4 separate regions of the Homo sapiens genome follow, and all the other regions are linked to region 1. Evidence: promoter capture Hi-C in human tissues and cell types (Jung and others, 2019). All regions are on one chromosome and are shown on one strand. The core of a region is centred on a gene start or on the middle of the fragment in contact, and the rest is flanking DNA. Distances in the headings are between cores, read along the strand shown. Region 1 holds the start of MAGI2 (membrane associated guanylate kinase, WW and PDZ domain containing 2). Region 2 overlaps GNAI1 (G protein subunit alpha i1). Region 3 has its middle 79 kb from the start of GNAI1. Region 4 has its middle 150 kb from the start of GNAI1.

What was found. The method cuts DNA at HindIII sites, captures the fragments that hold promoters and counts their contacts. A contact is called where the count stands out against the background at its distance.
Region 2: a fragment that was not itself captured here is called in contact with the fragment with the promoter of MAGI2 in region 1 in 1 of the 25 tissues and cell types used here (hippocampus).
Region 3: a contact is called between a fragment that was not itself captured here and the fragment with the promoter of MAGI2 in region 1, in 1 of the 25 tissues and cell types used here (IMR-90 fibroblasts).
Region 4: a contact is called between a fragment that was not itself captured here and the fragment with the promoter of MAGI2 in region 1, in 3 of the 25 tissues and cell types used here (IMR-90 fibroblasts, lymphoblastoid cells and small bowel).

Annotation. Positions count from the first base shown.
Region 1 is chr7:79,451,892-79,455,242 of GRCh38, reverse strand. It overlaps MAGI2 (membrane associated guanylate kinase, WW and PDZ domain containing 2), which reads left to right and starts at 1,576. Exons shown (of 22, transcript NM_012301.4): 1 at 1,576-2,223. The coding sequence starts at 1,923. It overlaps MAGI2-AS3 (MAGI2 antisense RNA 3), which reads right to left and starts at 2,286. Exons shown (of 4, transcript NR_038346.1): 1 at 2,052-2,286; 2 at 1,588-1,656. RefSeq lists an enhancer at 2,836-3,130. The HindIII fragment of the contact is 8,431 bases long and covers 1-3,351 here.
Region 2 is chr7:80,143,460-80,146,810 of GRCh38, reverse strand. The region is part of intron 1 of GNAI1 (G protein subunit alpha i1); the gene reads right to left. Among named protein-coding and RNA genes, the nearest start is that of GNAI1, 10 kb to the right of the region's middle. The HindIII fragment of the contact is 5,700 bases long and covers 1-3,351 here.
Region 3 is chr7:80,054,193-80,057,543 of GRCh38, reverse strand. No RefSeq gene overlaps it. Among named protein-coding and RNA genes, the nearest start is that of GNAI1, 79 kb to the left of the region's middle. The HindIII fragment of the contact is 7,093 bases long and covers 1-3,351 here.
Region 4 is chr7:79,979,605-79,982,955 of GRCh38, reverse strand. No RefSeq gene overlaps it. Among named protein-coding and RNA genes, the nearest start is that of GNAI1, 150 kb to the left of the region's middle. The HindIII fragment of the contact is 6,983 bases long and covers 1-3,351 here.

The DNA.
Region 1 (3,351 bases), core at 327-2,826:
AAGATCATATTCTCAGTAAGCCGCAGAGTCTGGATTGAAACCTGGTCTTTCTGTTTGGGTCGACTCAACATTTTTAACCGTATTGTTTGCCTCCTACATCGCCTTCATCTCAGACATTAAGAATCCTACCTATTCAATGCTTTTCATCCTCCGCTTTAAAGAGATAAGTGGGTGCACAACTTTTTTTTTGCCTGAAACATATCATCTAAAAGTTAAGCAAATGAAATTCATTTACCAGTTACAGGAATCTTTTTCTTAAATCACTGTTAATGTCTCACAGGAAATTAGCTCTTCAGTGGAAATCAGCAGCCTCCCTGCATCCTTTTGCCCCTGTCCTCCCCTCTCTTGGATGCAAACCTGGCGAAAAGAAGGGAACACTGCTTGGGGTCAGCGAGCTGAGTTCCAGCTCCGAATGTACCATTTTCACCCTCGGGAGTCTTCTCCCCTTTCTCTGTGAGCAAAGGAGTGTTGGGCCAGACCGTCTTAAGGATTCTTCCCCAGGTACAAGCCGGACTCTGGCGGCTTTCCTGGGCAAGGGAGTGTCTCCGCCTTGTCTCTGCCGCAGGTCCCTGGTTAAATTGTCAATTTCTCTGCGGAGGCTGCTCACTGCATCCGCTCCCTCCACCCCTAGCCCTGTAGACCCCTTCTCTTTCCCCTACTTGGGAAAAGTGAAGCCCCTTATCCTTGGATAGCCTTTCACCAGACAACCGCAGCCGTCCGCTAAATTCCCCTACTGGCGGGACGCGCGGGCGGGGGCCTGCCCCGGGGAATGCGAGGCTGCTTCCCTTCTGCGTAATCAGGGTACGCAGCCTCCAGTTCTCTAACTTTCTCCTTCTCTAAGAGGGAATTTCGAGAACTTTAAGACAAATAAGTGACTATATAGATGAAGACATGAAACCTCTCTACACAGTGAACTCCCCCACGCTACAAGGCTCCCAGGGATCCCAGGCCTTCTCCCGCAATGCCCCGCCGGGTCCCCCGCCCCAACTCCTTCTCACGGCAGGATCCCGCGCCAGGACGCTCGCAGAGCCCGAGATGTGGCACCAGGCGCGCCACAAGTCCAGGTCCCGCTATTTCTGCTCCATCGGAGCCCAGGTCGGAGGGAGTCAGCGCGTCCTCCTCGCACAGGAGCCTGGCGCGCGGCTCGGTCGCACAGAGGCTGAAGAAAGGTCCGCACTGGGCTCGAGGCCCTTCCTGCCGGCCTCCCCACGCCGGGCCTAGGCTCCCCTCCTTCCCGGCTCCCGCCTCCTCCCGTAGGCTGCCAGGCGGACCCAGCCTGCCTCTCTCTCTGCCTTCACTACCGGGTCAAGCTGCGGAGGGAGGGAGGGAGGCAGCGGCGAAGCCCTCCGTGGCTCCCCACCCGGCGCGCGCGCCCCTCCTCCCCTGCCTCCTCCCGTCTGCCAGTACAGTAGAACTAGTACACACACACACACACACACACACGCACACGCACCCTGCCACTGCAGCTGCCATGGATATCAGCTAACAACACACACCCAGGCGCGCGCGCGCGTTCCCACTCGCACCACGCAGGAGTGGCCCCCGGCATCCCTACCCTCCTTCCCCACCCCCACCACACCCGCTCACCAGCTCGGCTACTGCTCGCTCCGGCTGCCGCCGCCGCCGCCGCCGACGCCACCACCACTGCTTCCTCTGCTGCGGGGCCACAGCCTTGAGTGTCATTCAAGGGACAGCACAACCTCATCCAAGCTCTCCTACCTCTGCCCAGCCGTCCCTCTCATCCTCCCCATTCCTCGTCCACACTCCATCCAAAGAAGAGGGAAAGCACCGAATAGAGGGGGGCGAAGGCAAAGTCTGCTGTTCTTCCCCCTGGGCCCCCTTGCTCCTCCATCCTCATTCTCTCACCACCAGCCCCCCTAACCCCAAGGAGCCCAGGAACTGAGGCGACTCGCCCCACTGCCATGTCCAAAAGCTTGAAAAAGAAAAGCCACTGGACTAGCAAAGTCCATGAGAGTGTCATTGGCAGGAACCCGGAGGGCCAGCTGGGCTTTGAACTGAAGGGGGGCGCCGAGAATGGACAGTTCCCCTACCTGGGGGAGGTGAAGCCCGGCAAGGTGGCCTATGAGAGCGGCAGCAAATTGGTGTCGGAGGAGCTGCTGCTGGAGGTGAACGAGACCCCCGTGGCGGGGCTCACCATCAGGGACGTGCTGGCCGTGATCAAACACTGCAAGGACCCCCTCCGGCTCAAGTGTGTCAAGCAAGGTGAGAGCAGCGGCTTGCTCAGTGTTTTGCCGGGCGGTGGGACCGCTCGGGGCGCAGGGCAATGAAAGGGTGGCCGCGCATGTTGAAGGGGGTGTGTTGCGCGATGATGGGGTGGGGGCCAGAGAGCACCCGCAGTGCAAGTGAGTTTCGCCGGGGATTCGACTTGGGGGCTAAAGGGAGGGGAGGGGCAGGTTGTGGTGTGGCGTGCAACTTTGTTTGCTCAGTTAGACCCTCCCCTTTGGAAGGTGCTCGGCCTGGTCTGACCTCCTCAGAGCTGCTGGGGCAAATTGAATGTGCGTCAGTGGCATCACCCGAAGCGGATGAAGAGCTTTTGGGGAAGGGAGGAAGGAAGAAAAGAAAGAAAGAATGGGAGGAAGGGAGGGAAAGAAGGAAGGAGCAACTTCAGGGTGCAGCGGCATCACCAGCGGGTCTGGGAAGAGAAGGTGGTGGGGTGAGCGGAGAACTGCGTCCAGCGTTTCTGGGGCTGGGCTGGGGGCGCCTGGGTCCCCAGCTGTCCCTTAGGGATCCGTGAGCCACCGCTGGCGAAGAAAAGAAGGGACAAATTGCTTTGGGCGCTTTGACGGGTCTTCTGTAACTTTTCCCCTTCTTCACTCCGTGTCCCCCTCCCCCGCTCACGGTCGTGTCATGTGGGCATCGCGCGTCACGTGCGTACTGACTAACCCCTGCGCTCACCCCTAGCCAGCCCGGGGGAGGAGGCTCCGGAAGAAGGCGCGGTGCTAGGAGCGCAGTCTAGTGCTGGGCGGGGGTCGGAGGAGATGAATGGTTGTCGGAGGAGATGAATGGTTGTCCGCATGGACTTTACTCAGGGGTTGCCCTCATTGAGTGGAAGTCCTCTGTGGTTGGGCTCTCCTCTGGCTCCGATTTGGGGGGCGTGTTTTGGGGGAGGAGCTGGATGAAACCCTGGCCGGTTCCAGCCCAGGCTCCCTCAGCTCCAACCTGACTTAAATGAACCTCAATTGGAGGCTGTGATGTGGATTTGGGGAGATTGGAATCATCCAGAACTCCCTGTCTTTGCTCGAAAGAAAATTATGGTGCAGAAGGAGAGAAGAGTGAGATAAAAGTTTGAATAGAGGACAACTTTAAGTAGAATAAAGTAGTAGCTTTTTT
Region 2 (3,351 bases), core at 575-3,074, 690 kb before region 1:
AAGTGATAGGTTTCATGAATGTGGCAAAGGCCAGATAAGATGTGAGAAATGCTTATGAAATGGATAAATGGAAAAGAACCAGAGAAGATTACCTCCTCTAGGACTCTGAGATGGACTGGACTGTGGCTCAGCAATACAAGCACCCCGGGAGCCTATGAGAAATGCAGAATCTCAGGCCCCACCCCAGACCTACTCAATGAGAATCTGCATTTTGAAAGATTCAAAATTACTTCTATGCATAGTAAAGTTTAACTTTAAAAAGAACGAGCTCTAAAAAAATAAGGTCAGCACTTGGATTGCAGCAAGGACATACAGTAGGAATAATTGTGGGAAAAAAACACAAAAACCTAACTTCAGAGCCAGACACAATAGAGAATGTAATATGAGAAATTTTTGAAAATTATTAAAGTGCTTTTTTTCTCTTTTGCATTTACATGAATAATGGGAGAAGAGGCAGACACTGGTATCATCCAGACAAAAATGGAAGAGTACAAGTGCCTTACTTTCCCAGGCATCCCATGGCAGAGCCTGCAAGCTTGGGAGCTACAGGGCATTCAGTTAGGAGCAACTGGAGCAGTCACACAGGGAAAAGAGAGGCAGAGTCAGACCCATATCTTAATCTCCACTCTGGGCCAAAGCTGAATTGTATGTCAGAGAAGATGAAGAAACTGCTAAAGGCAGTGGGGCCTGTTTGGGTTAAGAAAGTCTCCTAGGCAGCAACATGTATCCAAGCAGTATGATGAAGTGTGGCTAAGCAGAGGGAATGCCTGAGCTGACCTTTCCCCATCACCATGGGACCTCTGTGGAATGTATGCAACATATAATTTTCCTGATGCTTGAGATAACCAGAGAAGGCAAAGCACTCGAAACAGCTGAGAACCTGGCTACCTCATACTGGCTCTACAGGAAAGGGCTGCCTGGGAAAAACCAAGTAAGAAGGACACAGCATCCACGAGATTGAAAGGAAAACTGCAGCCAACCCAGGGTGTACAGGATTCACACAGACAACGTACTGCTTAATATATGCTCACAAATGAAAAATTATAAGAGGACACAATTTACCTCGAGACAGAGTCAAGACACCATAAATAGCTGAAGCTCAAGAACTTCAAAAATCGTTTTTCAGACTATGAAATAGGTACAATATAATGAAAATGGCTTTGAAAAAGCCAGAAAATAAAGAAGTAGAATAACAGACACTTTTTCAAGCTAAAGATTAGAAATGGTTTTTAGACATAGAAATTTCACCACTAAAATGTAAAGCTCAATCTATTAATAGGTAGATTAGTTATTACCAACTGGATAAAAATGAACCTAGAAAATGTGTAAGTAGCACAAAAAGATAAAAACCACAAAGAGGTTACAATTAAGTTCGAATGAGAAGCCCAACCTTCATATAAAAGGAACTCCAGAAGGAGAAGAGTACACGGGAATAAACACCACATTACCTCTTTAAAAAATATATAGATTGATATGGTTACATGACTGCCTATTTCTCAATACTTCTATATCAATCAGAAAGTCAATAATTTAAAGCAGAAAGTAATTTAAAGAGTGACTGCAAAGTGAAAAAGGAAAAATATGAACACTGCCTATTTTTCTGAATATTCTGAAAAGTTTAAATAAAAAAATAGATTAAAAATTACTTAAGGGGTGTATTACTTGGATTTTATCACTTTTAAAGCTAGGCATGACTTGAGACCAGGACACAGGAGTCTTTAAAGCAGTATGAAGATGCTAGTGGATCAGGTGGATGGAAAAAGGTGCTGGAGGCAAGAGAGGACGAATTGATGGAGGCAAGTGCTCAGTGTTGGTCTTGAATTAGAGGAGCACCATCTTATAGTCCCAGCAACTTTACTGACCACCATTACTTTTTACAGTAACAAAATATACCTTGCATACATTTCTTGATCTGATTGCTGATTGAATGTGCTCAGTTTGTGAAAACTTAAGTGAGCTAGTATACATGGATCAATTTCAAGCTATACCGAAATAAATGTAATTCTTGGAATTAGATTAACTTCGGAACCATATAAGAAGGCAGTTTAACTCCTACTACATTATATTGATTATAACTGTAAGTTTACTTACAAGTTCCATCCCTCTTAAATACCATGAAGAACAAAATTAGTAAGCCTTCAGCAACGGCTGTCAAATAAGATGTATGTGCCCAAACAAGAAAAATGAATAATATAGATCAGTTACTAGAAAAAATTCTGGATTGTACTTTAGTGAGGCAAGGGTAACAGGAGGAGTTTCATACAACTGAAGATGTAAGTCTTAAGGAACTCATTTTACAATTTATTAAAAGGCACAAATACTATCACAGATTCAACAATTCACTGTTTCTCTATTAAGGTTACCACCACTTTTAAAGACATTCTTCTCCTAAAAGTAAATCCGTTATAATCCTGGAGTTCTATCAGGAATCTCTTTGAGTCAACAGTGCAGGAAGTTTTAGAAAGGATTTTATATTTTGTGGAAAGTTGTCAAACTCCTCTGAGAAATGGCACCATCTTTTGAATAAACTTAACGTTTCATAATTTACACTAACAGCTTTATTTTCCAAAAAAAAAAAAAAGTTTGCAAAAAGCCACTGCACTAATTCTAAAAATGGATAATAAAATGAAGAGAAAATTACTGCTATAACATTTGTAAAATCTTCTGATTATGTAAAGTGCATTCTCTATAGAATTCTTAACACAGCACAGATATTTACCTGGTCTAGCCCCAGTAAGGAGGCTGTTAAAGAGAAATCCAAGTCCCTCAAGGAAGTTACGGTGGGATTAGAAACTAATGTTTAAAACTGAATTTATACTTCTTGAAGTCTTCACTATATATATACACACACACACATATATGCACACATATAGATACACACACGCGCGCACACACACACACACACATCCTTGCTAAGAAAAGCCAATAAAAAGAATTTAATGTCTATGACCACAAATGGATGAAACTGCAAGGGAGGGCTGATTCCACAGAGTCTCTGAAGTATTTATAATAATAGCCTATAATTATTAAGAATGTATGTACCATGTAGTATTCTAAGTACTTCAGATGCATTAGCTTACTTTGTCACTAGCCCTATGAAGTAGATATATTTATTATCCAGCATTTATAGAAGAAAAAACTGAAGCTTATAAAATTTGGTAACTTGCCCAAGGTCTCATGGGAAAACTTTTACCACCAGAGTTCTAAGTCAACTCACCTTTCCTCTCTGGAAAGCCTTTCTACAGAGCTAAATAAACCTTGGAGGGGAAAAAAATTCCTTAGACATGGAAAATGTTAGAAAACTAAATTCATAGATAGCAAAGTCTCTTCTACATTATAAGTTTCCATACA
Region 3 (3,351 bases), core at 551-3,050, 600 kb before region 1:
TTCATGTATGTTTGCATCATTGTCATATACGGCAGAATATTTTTTTTTTTTTTTTTTTTTTTTGTGATGGAGTTTCGCTCTGTTGCCCAGGTTGGAGTGCAGTGGCATGATCTCCGCTCACTGCAAGCTCCGCCTCCCGGGTTCACGCCATTCTCCTGCCTCAGCCTCCCGAGTAGCTGGGACTACAGGCGCCTGCCACCACACCCGGCTAATATTTCTGTTTATAGTAGAGACGGGGTTTCACCGTTTTAGCCAGGATGGTCTCGATCTCCTGACCTAGTGATCCGCCCGCCTCGACCTCCCAAAGTGCTTGGATTACAGGCATGCGCCACCGCGCCCGGCCCAGTATATCCTTTTTTTTAAAGCTTGAATAGTATACCAGTGTGTGTGTGTGTGTGTGTGTGTGTAAATTTTTAAAGTCTATTCATCTGTCAATGAACAGTTACTTGGGTTGCTTCCATGCTTTAGCGATTGTGAATAATGTTGCAATGAAAATAGAAGTGCAGATAATCACTTCAAGATCCTGATTCAATTCTTTTGTATACATACTGAAAAGTGGAATTGCTGAATAATATGGTAGCTCTATTTTTTATTTTTTTTGAGGACCTCAGACTGTTTTTCATAGCAGCTGCACCTCCAGAGATTCTAATTAAGTTAATTTGGGATAGGCCCCAGATATCAGCATTTTATAATTTCTCCAGGTGATTCTAATATGTCTTAGGGCTGCAAATCCCTGCCCTGAAGTTGATAGCTCTCAGCCTGACTATATAATAGATCAGTGATTCTCACAGCTAGTACCAGAAACACCTAGAGGGTTCATTGAAACATAAATTGCTAAACTGGCATTTTTAACAGTTTCCCAAGTGATAATGATGTTGTTGCTGATACTGCTGGTCCAGGAGCTGCCCTTTGAGAACTGCCCTTTTAACAATGCTAGAATCAACTTTGTCTGACTTTTCCTTTATGATCTATTTCTTTAAGCTCCCATAGCTGACTAAAACCACTTTTGAAAATTGTGGTAAAATAAACATAACAAAAATTTACCAACTCTTGTGATTCTTTGCACAAAAAGTCCACATATGCCTGTTATATGTATGTGGATTTATTCTTTTTTGAAAATATGAAGAGATTATATTCCATTATGAATTTTTGGTACTATTTTTCTAATATTGAAAGTTACTTACACATCTTGACAACACAAGGCAGTAGGGTGCAACTTTTCAAGAATGTTTTGTGAATAGGAAAAGTAAACCTGGGATTGGGGACTTGCGGCAAATGAGCCACAAGTGGATAAATCTTCTTGCAAATTGTTGTAGCTATATTTTTAAGGACATTTAATAAGAATTTCAATTGATATAAAACTTGTCATGGTTAGCAGAGTATGGCCAATTACATTATTGCTATTTTAAGCCATTTTTCCTAGTGATAAAATTATACCATTTTGTAGATGGCCTTTAAAAGAGCCTCTCTCTGTTGCCCAGGCTGGAGTGCAGTGGCATGATCTCAGTGCACTGCAACCTCCCTCTCCTGGGTTCAAGCGATTCTCCTACCTCAGCCTCCCGAGTAGCTGGGATTACAGGCACGTACCACCATGCCTAGCTAATTTTTGTATTTTTAGTAGAGATGGGTTTTGTCATGTTGGCCAGGCTGGTCTTGAACTCCTGACCTCAGGTGATCCACCCATCTCGGCCTCCCAAAGTGCTGGGATTACAGGTGTGAGCCACCATGCCTGGCCAAAAGTTTTATGCATACTTATTAAATAAAACTTAGTTTAATCCTGGACTTTGTTAACAAGCTGTTTGACCTTGAGTTGGTCATTCAACTATTTAGGTTTCATATTATTTTTACAATGATCTATGGGCTTCCTTCTATGTATATTTATTTTTAATTTTTAAAATCAGATGTTGTAAAATACCAAACATTTATTTAAAATGTACAATAATAATAACATGAACAACTACATTTTACTGTCCAGTTTATGAAAATTCTTTTAACATATACTTTAAAATCCCTATGTGTCTTCGTGTAACCTATTCTCTTCTCTTTCTGCTCAGAGGAAACGTTATCAGAATTTAGTGTTTATCATTCTTTTGCCTGCTTTCATAGTTTTCATAGTTTTACCACGTATGTATGTATAATCAAAAATACATTTTATTTTAGTATGCTTTGAATATTCTATAGATACGTTTGTAATATGTGTCTTCCCTTGCCATTACCCTGGGGAAGCAGGTGTATATATAGTTTATTGGACCCACCTCGTTACTTTGCCAGATTTCCTACCTTTCACAGTATTCTGTTTCACTCCTATAGGTCAGTGAAAACTAAAGCTCAATTCACCTTGCTTTGTTTGGTTGATATTGTCAAGGTGAAAATGGCTTGTTGCTTACCTGTTTCTAATTTTCTAATTTAACTTTGTTCTCACTCTCTGATTATCCCCAATTTTCTTGTTAGTTCCTCAGTGCATTCAAGAACATGGTTTTAATTGTTTATCCATATTTTTTGCAGTACTTTGTGGCAAAGATAACAGGAATTGAGACAAAGGTGAATAAGTCAGAATTCCTGATTTCCAAAACCTCAAATCCAGAGTATGAGAAGACAGTCATGTAAATACACAATCAAAATATTTATTTCTTCAAACCTATGTATTGACCTAGCATCTTCAAACACCCCTTGACCTGAAACAAGCAGAAGGGAAAAAATGAGGTTAGAAAAGAAATAGAGAATAGAAAAACAAAAGAAAAAAATAAAATCAGAAGTTGGTTCTTTAAAATAAATTAACAAAATTGACAAACCTTTGTCTATACTGACCAAGAAAAAAAGAGGTGAAGACTCATACAACTAGAATTGGGAATGAAAAATGGGTCACAGTTTTGAAAAACACTTCAGCAGTTTCTCAAAAGGTTAAACCTAGAGTTACCATATGATCCAGGAATTTCCCTTTTGGGTATACGCCCAAGAGAGTGGAAGCATATGTCCATGTAAAATTGTGTATACAAATGTCCATAAGTGCATGATTCATAATATCAAAAGGTGGAAATAATCCAAAGGCCCAACAGACGAATGGATAAATAAAATGTAGTATAGTCATACAATGCAATATTATTTGGCAATAAGAAAGAATGAAATACTTATTCATGCTGCAGCATAGATGAGCCTTGAAAATATGATGCTAAGTGAATGAAGCCAGCCACAGAAGACCACATATTGTTTGATTCGATTTATTAGAAATGTCTTAGCATTGGCAAATGCAGGGAGAGAGAAAGTACATCGGTGGTTGTCTATGGCTGGTTTGGGAGACTGTGGGAAATGGTAGGATGATTGCAGAAGGGTATGAGGTTTTGTGTTGGGTGG
Region 4 (3,351 bases), core at 579-3,078, 530 kb before region 1:
CCTTCATTTCTGCTTTTTTTCTTTCTTCTTTTCTTTCCTTCTTTTTTTTTTTTTTAACAATTCCATTTTCTCTTCTGCAAGGAGTGATGATCAGAACTCCACATAGATTTTTCATGTGCAGATGCATATGTTTGTATGGGGGTGGCAAAATATTTTTTAAAATTTTTTTCCAAAGTCCAAACTATTTCCTAGCAGCAATGCTTTATTGAAAATTTTACATCATATTATCAGTCAATGTCTGATTCATTTCCTGGGTAGTAACAGACAACTCATATTCTATTACATTGGAGTTAAGGTTTAGACTTTTTTCCTGAATGAATCATATGGTATTATTTACATTGAGTTTCATTATCTTTTCAAATTGTTAAATCTATTCGTGATTTTTTTTTTACAAGAGAAATAAAGATCTTGTGATTAAGGGTCCTCTATAGCACTCCCTCATAATACATGTGTAATCATTTAGCCTTATCCTATTTTAATAAATTCGTATGTAGAGTGTCCCTGCATCTGCAAAACATGAATTAAAGGGGAGAAATGTGGAGGCTCAAGTCTTTATGCCTAAGGGCTGGATGACAGGTCTTTGAAATGACCCCTTTAATCAGTAAAGGAAGATGCCAGATGTTTTATTATTCCAGCAGCCACTGCTAATGACAAGAGAAGGTTTTGGTGTTTGTCAGCTGAAGCTTTCTTACTGCTGGTCTGATGAGTTAGAGCAAACCAGCATCTGTTCAGAGAATGTGCAGAGAATCATAGACCTAGAGAATGTGTTTAAGTTTGAAGTCTTGAGTGATTAGGTGTTGAGTTCACTCCCTTTACATTTTCGTAGCATGAGTTTCTTGGAAAGAATGAGGAAAGTATGGAGATTTTCAGAAAGAATCAATTAAGGTAATCAGAAGGGATTTTGTCAATGCTTCTGCAAATTACTTTTTTCACAATGCATCTCTACTCATTCAGAAAGACTTAAGTGGATGGACATTACTGTTACTTGTCTCCTAAATATGTCATTGCTGGATGTAAAAAAATATGCTCACATTTTTTATTTTACTAAAAAAATTTCAGGGAAATATTAAGATTTAAAAGCTACATAAGCTCAAAATAATGACTGCAGTCTCTCTGATTCTTCACGCCTATTTCATTCAGTTTGATGTACTCTTCACAAGATGTGAGAGTGATTTTGCTACCTTGGGGAAATATTTCTGACAGCAAATATGATATTACATTAGTTGCCTTTGGGCCCCAGATATCCCTTCCTCAGTATGTACATTAAGGACCAGGCAGTAACAGAAAGACACGTTATAGAAGGAGTACAAGGAAATATTTGCAAGATTGAAAACATACCAAAAATAAATGGAAACACTTGCTAAATTACAACTTCAAAACAAGAAAACTGAAGCAGAAGGCATAAAGCACTCTGGCATGGTTCTTTATATACGGATGTTGCTCCCTTGTACAGGGAACATATACCTCAGAAATCTTTGAGGCACTTAATAAAAATACAGTATCCTAGGATTCCTATAAAATTTATAGAATCAGAAAGTAGAACCAAGAATTACATGTTTTACCAAATGCCTCATGTGTGGTTTTAATACATACAAAGGCATAAACCACTGATACAGGGTAATAAGAAAGGGCATTTTGAGGGTAAAAATTAAAAAGACATAGTTGATTTTCAAAATTTATATTACAGTCTGTGTGAACTTTTTGCTGTCTCTCCGCATATGAGGGTTTAACAAGTAATAATGTTTTATCATGGTTTCTATGAAATAAATGCTGGATGCATCTAATGTTTTGGACCAAGTATGGGGTAGGTGGGAAGGCTATACTTGATTCACATTGGATCCAGTGAGAGTACAGTGGGCTTTCTTCCAAGCCCTAAATTCTTAGATTTAAGAATAATACTTGATCATGAAAAATTATCAGAAATATCTTTAACAAAGCAGACTTTGATCTGCCACACTTTATTTTATATATGTGTCTGTTGATAAATATTTTCATTAGGCTCATCTTAATTCAACAATTCCTATTCTACAAAACAGAACATTTCCAACATTCTAAATAGTAATTTTCCACAAACTTTACAAAATGAAAAGGGAAAATAACTAGTAGTTTATATTCCAAATACATTCCAACATTTTTTAGGATTTACAATGTATTACCTTCAAACCTGTACTTCCTATATTATTTGTATTAGTTTTATTATTAATGTTTGTTAATGGCATCATTGGTCATTCAGGAGTTTGTATGAGAAAACTCAGAGTTATCTTAAATTTCATTTCCTCTCTCTTCATTCCCTCATAGTCAAGTAGTTGCCAGATTCACCTCATTCCACATATTTCATATCTCTTTGACCTTTCACCTCCTCTAAGTTCCACTGCCAGTACTTTGGTAGATAAAGGCCTCGATGCCCTTGGCTAGATAACTGGACTCTTTTAATTGGCATCTCAGTATTTATTCTGGACACCTTCTAGCACATTCTTTAAATTGATGTCCAAGATGTCTTTTTAAAACAAAGAACTGGAGATGTTGCTTTTCTGATCAAAAAAACATTTTCTGGTTCTTATTTTCATTCAAGATAATGCCCAAACTTCTTAGTATGGCATAAGTCTTTTCACAACTACCCTTGGCATATAATTCCAGTATTTTACAACTCTATCCCACAAAAAGTACACACATCCCTCCTGGATTCTTAATGTATCTGTTTCATTCTCTATCAAAAGGCCTTCTTATTTCCCCAGTCTACACTTATACTTCCCTGTTTTTCTTTCTCATAGCATCTTCTTTATTTAGTTTTTAGTTTTTTTCACTATACCCTTCAGTCTCATCAAGTGGGCTCCACCTTCTATGAATACTGTTTTCCAAAATTGGTCTACAATATTTGTAATCTTTTTATAGCCAATGCCTGAATTTTTTGTAAATTATACAACATGGACATTTCCTTGGTATTTCTAAATTTTCCAAAATGTTTTCTGTGATATAATACTCTTTGGATGCTCTTAAGAATATTTTCATACCCCAATACATTTGGAAATCCTGCATACCATGTTCACTTTTGGGAGATTTACATAATATATATAGAAGCTCATTGAAGGTTCGGTAAAGTCATACTTTTAGAAAATTATTGAACCCTGAGATTAACCTGAAGTTTCTCTAATTACATGACTAATGTTCCATCGTAAAAAATATATTAGTAAGATAAGTACTGGAGCTAAAAGTGATATTCTAAGGAAAGAGACAGCAAACTGTGACATATGAATCAAATGGCACATCCCCCTCCCTGATTTTGTAAATAAAGCTGTGTTGGAGCGCAGTCATACCCATTTGTTTATATATCATCTAAGGCTGTTTCCTGCT